Regions from separate parts of the Homo sapiens genome. Here region 2 is linked to region 1. Evidence: promoter capture Hi-C in 16 types of primary human blood cells and fetal thymus (Javierre and others, 2016). All regions are on one chromosome and are shown on one strand. Each heading gives the region's core, a stretch centred on a gene start or on the middle of the fragment in contact. The rest is flanking DNA. Distances are from core to core; before and after follow the strand shown.

Region 1 (3,485 bases), core at 809-3,308:
AAGGTGCTGGGGCTGGTATTGTCAAGTATTGTCAAGACACCTGTGCTGTTCAGGCTCTGAAAAGTGGTCATAGGTTAGAAAAGTTACCAGAGTGGATCAAATTAAAACACCTCTTTATGAGGTCACCTGTCAGGCATTTTAGATTACCAGTAATGTTACGAGGGCCTATCTTTGCTTCTGGAGGAACCCCAGGGTCAGGAGTTCTTGCCATTCACTGTCCTGGAAGCAAGGTGATTCCAGCTCCTTGAAAATTGTTAATTATTTGTGCTAGCTTCATCTAGTGACAAAAAGAGGTAAGTTCAGCTCAGCTCACCAAAATTTGTCAAAACGGTGCAGCTTTTTCTCCTTTTCTGTAATTGTGCAGAATACTGTGGTTTACTAAATTCCAGAGTGACTTTTATTAACTTGTGTCCTCAAATAAGTGAAACTAGAGAAACAGCAGGCCAGATAGAGATGAAAATATAAAGGCTGGGCGTGGTGGCTCTCGCCTGTAATCCCAACACTTTGGGAGGCCGAGGTGGGCAGATCACGAGGTCAGGAGTTCGAGACCAGCCTGGCCAACATAGTGAAACCCCGTCTCTACTAAAAAATACAAAAACTTAGCCAGGAATGGTGGCGGGTGCCTGTAATTCCAGCTACTTGGGAGGCTGAGGCAGGAGAATCACTTGAACCTGGGAGGCAAAGGTTGCAGTGAGCCGAGATCATGTCATTGCACTCCAGCCCAGGCAATAGTGTGAGACTCTATCTCAAAAAAAGGAGAAAAGAAAAAGAAAATATAAAGTAAAAACTGAGAGGAAAACAGCGCTTATTTTAACTCCTGATGGTACTGTTTGCAGGAGTCATGCTCCAGTGCCTTATAAGAAGTTTACCGAACTGCCAGCCTCATGGAGCAGGATACCCCTTTAAGATGGGTGGGCCAGGTGCAGGGGTGGGGTTGGGGGTCCTGCACAACTCTGCTGATGCTTGGTTGACCCTGACGGATATTCTGGGCCATCCTGGCTTTTGACTGGAACCTGCTACCTAGGTTGACCCTTCAGTTCCTCTCCTTATCAGCTCTGTTATTTCCAATCTCTGAGTCACATCTTGCCCAACTCCATTCCACTATGTCTGCTTCAGTTGGCATCCTTTCTCCCTTCCATTTAAAGTTTCCCCAAACAGATCTGGCCTTATTGTATTCTCTATTGAGTTTTCATTCAACAACATTTGTTGAGCATCTTTGTGCCAGGCCCATGTTAAGTATAGGAGACTCAAGGCTGAGAATAACACACCGTTGCAAGCACATCCTCTGGATCCAAACTCCCTGGGTTCGAATCCTAGTACCATCATTTCTAACTGTGGGATCTTGGACAAGTTACTTTGTTTTACTCCAGTGTCCTCATCTATATAAAAAGAATAATAATACGGTCATTTTCTCACGGGGTGAGAGGATTGACTAAGGAGCTTACAAGGGTGTCTGGTGCCTGGTAAGCACTCTTTAAGTGCTGGCTCTTAAGGCACGGTCCTTGCCTCTCAAGGAGCTCATGGTCTACAGTTGCCCCTGGGGGACAGGGCTGAGTCGGCTGGCTTCGCAAGTGACCTGCACCTCCTGGCTACCCTTTCCTGAACCGGGTGGAAGTTTTTGAGTCACAGATTCAATGTATGACCCCAGACAAGTAAGTTCTCTCGGTCTCACTTTTTGCATTTATAAAGAAAGGAAATTGGACTAAAATTGATTTCCAAGATCCCAACAAACTAGTATACTTGTTCTGGGTCAAGTAGCCCAAGTTTCAAACTATGTCAGCTTGGCCAAGACACTTAGCCCTCAGAGTTTGTTTCATCCCTGTAAAACGTGGATGATATTGCTAATCCCCTCCCAGTGTTGTGATGAGGGTTCAATAATACAAGGCAAGCCCCAGGCGCTCGCCGGCTCCAGGTATACAGCGAGAGGAAATCAGGACAGCTTTTCTGATTCACCGCAGAATTCTAGCCACCCGCCCTAGCCGTTCGACGCACGCGCGCTGGCACCGCCACCGCCCACGCCGACAGCAGGTTCCCGGCTTCCGGTTCCGCCACGGCCCAGAGGCTGTGTTGAGGCTAATGGCGGTGCCCACGGAACTGGATGGAGGGAGTGTTAAGGAGACCGCAGCGGAAGAGGAATCGCGAGTTCTGGCACCTGGCGCCGCCCCGTTCGGAAATTTTCCTCATTATTCTCGCTTCCACCCTCCGGAGCAACGGCTCCGCCTCCTGCCCCCGGAGCTGCTTCGACAGCTCTTTCCTGAGAGTCCCGAGAACGGGCCGATTCTGGGGCTCGACGTGGGGTGTAACTCCGGGGTGAGTGACAGGGGAGGGATTGGAGCATCCGGAGCCAAGTGGTTGGCTGCCTACACATCCACTGTGGTTCTGGCCTGGGCTAACACCCATCGAAACTTTCCCAAAACGAGTATAAAGCGTGGCTTTGACTGAGCCAGTGCCGCTGCTGCCTGCCCGCCAGGGTTCCACCATCTGTCTTAGGAATCTCTCTTGGAGAGGAGTCCTTGTCGACTACGTTCCCACTTTTCTTTCAGGGCCAGACCCCAGGTGGGAACGGTCCTTGTATCTAGGGTGGCCTCTGTCCAGCGTGCCTGGCGCTTTGGCTGGGGAGAGGGGGCTTCCAGAGACACACGTTTGGGAACATGGGGTTAGGTTTGGTTTACTGGGAGAGAAGAGCCAAGGGTGACAGAATCATGCCTGATATTGAGACTCATGTGTGCTATACAGTGCAGGACAGACCCTGGGACCTGCATGTTTATTTCAAAAAAAGTGAGTAGGCCGGGCGCGCTGGCTCACGCCTGTAATCCCAGCACTTTCGGAGGCCGAGGCGGGTGGATCACAAGGTCACGAGATCGAGACCATCCTGGCTAACACGGTGAAACCCCGTCTCTACTAAAAATACAAAAAATTAGCCGGTCGTGGTGGCGGGCGCCTGTAGTCCAGCTACTCCGGAGGCTGAGGCAGGAGAATGGCGTGAACCCGGGAGGCGGAGCTTGCAGTGAGCCGAGCTAGTGCCACTGCACTCCAGCCTGGGCGACAGAGCGAGACTCCGTCTCAAAAACAAAACAAAACAGTGAGTTGACAGAGTACAGTGGAGAGGATCGAGAAGCAAATAAAGCATTTTGCCCAAGGGAATGGAGAAGGGCGGCACTGCCACTCTTCTTGCTGCAAACTATTCTTAGGCATATGATTATAATCAAACCACATGCAAAATAAGGAAATGTCTCTCCCACACCTATTTGTAGCCACTGGGATATTCTACACTAGCAGGCAGTCTGAACTTACCACGGCAAATGCTTCAAAAGTTAGTACCCTCTCTGCGCTCCCTCCATCACTCCAGTCCAGCATCTGGAGGGCGGGGGACAATTCTGTTACGTTGCTGTCCTTTTACAGAAGAGACTTTGGGGGACGACTTCAGACCTTGTGGGACTCAGATGATAGTAGGAAGGGGACATTTGGATACAGTCTCAAAGACT
Region 2 (3,362 bases), core at 649-3,148, 750 kb after region 1:
AAGCCCATGTGCTATGTTGGGAGTAAGAGCGCAAAACTTAGGCTTATACAGATTGTGTATTGCACAGCTTCCAGGGACACCATTCACCTCATAGTCATTGTGTGGATAGTTACTATGATAGTTTTCTAATAAATGTCAGTCATCTTGAGGAAGGGGTGCTTTTTTTTTCTTTTTTCTTCTTCTTTTTTTTTTTTTTTTTTTTGTGAGACAAGGTCTGGCTCTATCACCCTGGCTGGAGTGCAGTGGTGCAATCTCAGCTCACTGCAACCTCCGCATTCTGGGCTCAAGCCATTCTTCCAGCTCAGGCTCCAGAATAGCTAGGACAACAGACACATGCTACCATGCCTGGCTAATTTTTGTATTTTTAGTAGAGATGGGGTTTTGCCATGTTGCCTGGGCTGGTCTTGAACTCCTGAGCTCAAGTGATCCACCTACCTTGGACTCCCCAAATGATGGAATTACAGGGGTTAGCCACAACACCCAGCCATCTTTTTTTTGGGGGGGGGGGTCCTCACTCTGTCACCCAGGTTAGAGTGCAGTGGCATGATCTTAGCTCACTCTACAGCCTTGAACTCTTGCACCCAAGTGATCCTCCTTCCTCAGCCTCCTGAGTACCTAAGACTACAGGCATGTACCACTACCTCCCACTAATTAATTTTTTTTTTTTGAAACGGGGTGTCACTATGTTGACCAAGTTGGTCTTCAACTCATGGCCTCAAGCAGTCCTTGCCTCGCCCCCAAAGTGTTGGGATTACAGGAGTGAGCCACTGTGCCTGGCCTGGTTTTTTCTGATGTACACAAAGTTGCTATGAGTACTAGCCATAGAGTGTGGTGAGGGGAGGGTGAATATGAAACACAAAGTGTAGATTCCACAAATGCTTGCAAAGCACCCTTCTGTAGAGTAGGCACTTAACCTTGGAGATACATGATAAATATGTGTGTGCTTAAGATTGCTTTGTCTAGTAAGGTGCCAGATAATTCTAATACTGTTCTAACACTGCAGTTAAGTAATGGTTCTCGAGGGAACACAGGTGGGCAGTGTTGGGACATCAAGGAAGGCTTCTTAGAAGAAATGACTTCTAAACAAAAGAAATTGGACGTGGTGCCTCTGAGATGAGATCTGAGTGGCTGAAAATGGAGCCCCGGGAGTCCAGAGAGGGAGAAAGCTGGAGAGGTGCCTAGATGGACGGTTAAGGGAAGTGATCCTCACCTCTTACAAAGACTTTTGAGTGTCCACTGCCCTTCAGCAGCTTCCAACTGAGAAGTCATTCATTTGAAAAACAGCAGCTATTAGATGCCTGGCAAAGAAGAGAAGGGGAAAAAAGTTGGAAGTCCTAAATGAGACAATAAGTACCAAGCTCTGTTCCTGGTTCTGGGGAAGTTCCAAAGGAGACTGCAAAGTTAGTAGAGAAATGGGCCCCTGGTATCCTCACCTCCCAGTCCTGCTTAATGCTGAATGTGAGGAGAGATGGAAGTCGGGGAGATCTGGGGAGGACTACAGAGAAGGGAGGCTCTGGTTGTATGCCCAAAGGGCTTGGCTGGTCTTGGGCAGAAATTGGAACCCATACTTCCTGGATGACAGCGGAGGGCATGGCCTGCCAGGGTAGGCTTTGAGAGAGTAAAAATTCCAATTCAAGTATCAGAGGAGGGTGGTTTGGTTCCAAGTTTAAGCTTGGAGGTAGAAGGATGTTTAGGCAGCCAAGGACTGTAAAGCTACAAGTATTTCCTAGGCAGGTGTCTGCCTGGTTTCCAGGATGGGACACACTTCAGTCGCAAAATGGACCAGCAGTGACCGGCTAGATCCCCCGCCCGGGTGGGAGGGGGTGGGACGGTCTTGGGAGAAGGGCGGAGGGCGGGGCCAGGGGCCACTTAAGGCGGAGTCCGGAGTCCGGGCGTTCTGGCAGCACCAGAGTCCTGCAGCAGAGACGGGCTGGGCTGGCACTCACCCACGACCCCCCTTCCCTGCTATGATGGTTTGTCAGTAGCAGGTCCTAGACACCCCCCGCCCGCTCCCGGGGCACGTGGGCAGAGCTAGCAGCAGCCAGGTGCACGGAGCCACAAGAGCTCTAGGGCACTCTGGGGGCAGCTGTGCCTGCTGCCCTCTCTGGTGCCTGTGGAGATGCCTAACTGACAGGAGAGTTAGTGAGGACAAGAACGCTCCCTTTTGGCCGAGGTCCGCTGTATCCATGGCTCTCCTGACCAATCTACTGCCCCTGTGCTGCTTGGCACTTCTGGCGCTGCCAGCCCAGAGCTGCGGGCCGGGCCGGGGGCCGGTTGGCCGGCGCCGCTATGCGCGCAAGCAGCTCGTGCCGCTACTCTACAAGCAATTTGTGCCCGGCGTGCCAGAGCGGACCCTGGGCGCCAGTGGGCCAGCGGAGGGGAGGGTGGCAAGGGGCTCCGAGCGCTTCCGGGACCTCGTGCCCAACTACAACCCCGACATCATCTTCAAGGATGAGGAGAACAGTGGAGCCGACCGCCTGATGACCGAGGTAAGGAGGGCCTCTCCCTACCTGCGCCGGGGCACTGCCAGCTCCTCCGTTTTCCTATGGCAGCCCAGGTGGGTGAGTCCAGCTTCACCTACAGAGAGTTTAGCCTTAGAGATTTCCCTTGTCACCAGCCCCAGGGGGGGGAAAAATCCTTGCAGTCTGGACAGAGTAATTAGGACGGCTCCCGACTAGAATAGTCTGGGATGGGGAGGGGAGGAGGGACTGACTAGTGAGAGTGAAGCTGGTAGAGGCAGCGAGGGCGGGGAAAGGAGGATGGCGGCAGGCGAGACGGGAAATGGCTGAGGCGTGGACCGGGGGTCAGCCACCCAGCCAGGCAGGAAGGGCTGGGGTGAGCTGGGGGCCAGGAGCTGGCTAGGTAGCAGACAGAAGCCTGGCTCCTGACCTGATTGTAGAAAAGCTCTGTGGGCCGAAAAGAAGAGACTGAAAAGGGCTGGGACAGGGGTGGCCAAGGGTCAGGTCACCAGACCATCTACCTGAGGAGGGGCTGGGCAGACATTGCTTTTGGCATGGGAAACGTGTCCTAGAACCAGGACACATCTATTCTAGGGTCTATTCTAGGGCTATCCTAGGGTCTAAACGATAATCTTGGGGTTAAAAAGTAATCCTCAGTGAGAATAACAGATGGACCCACCTGAGAATCAGAGGGCTCCTAAGTCTTCCAAGCTCTGCCTATCTCAGGGGCTTTCCTTGGAATTACATAATTAGGATAAATTCAACTACCATTTTTGAGCATTGGAACCACCTAGAGTGAGGTGGAAGAGAAGGACCACCTCTGGCGAGTGATTTATTTTTTATTTTTTGTAGAGACGGGGTCTTGCCATGTTGCCTAGGCTAGTCTTGAACTCCTGAGCTCAA

The links. The method cuts DNA at HindIII sites, captures the fragments that hold promoters and counts their contacts. A CHiCAGO score of 5 or more calls a contact.
Region 2: the fragment with the promoter of DHH here is called in contact with the fragment with the promoter of BCDIN3D in region 1 in 4 of 17 cell types (monocytes, non-activated CD4 T cells, neutrophils and 1 more); the score reaches 7.1 in monocytes.

What each region holds. Positions count from the first base shown.
Region 1 is chr12:49,841,679-49,845,163 of GRCh38, reverse strand. It overlaps BCDIN3D (BCDIN3 domain containing RNA methyltransferase), which reads left to right and starts at 2,058. Exons shown (of 2, transcript NM_181708.3): 1 at 2,058-2,310. The coding sequence starts at 2,077. RefSeq lists enhancers at 1,716-1,775, 2,346-2,715. The HindIII fragment of the contact is 7,812 bases long and covers 1-3,485 here.
Region 2 is chr12:49,093,337-49,096,698 of GRCh38, reverse strand. It overlaps DHH (desert hedgehog signaling molecule), which reads left to right and starts at 1,898. Exons shown (of 3, transcript NM_021044.4): 1 at 1,898-2,489. The coding sequence starts at 2,187. DHH-AS1 (DHH antisense RNA 1) reads right to left here. Exons shown (of 4, transcript XR_007063295.1): 3 at 2,511-2,577; 4 at 955-1,298. The HindIII fragment of the contact is 10,631 bases long and covers 1,674-3,362 here.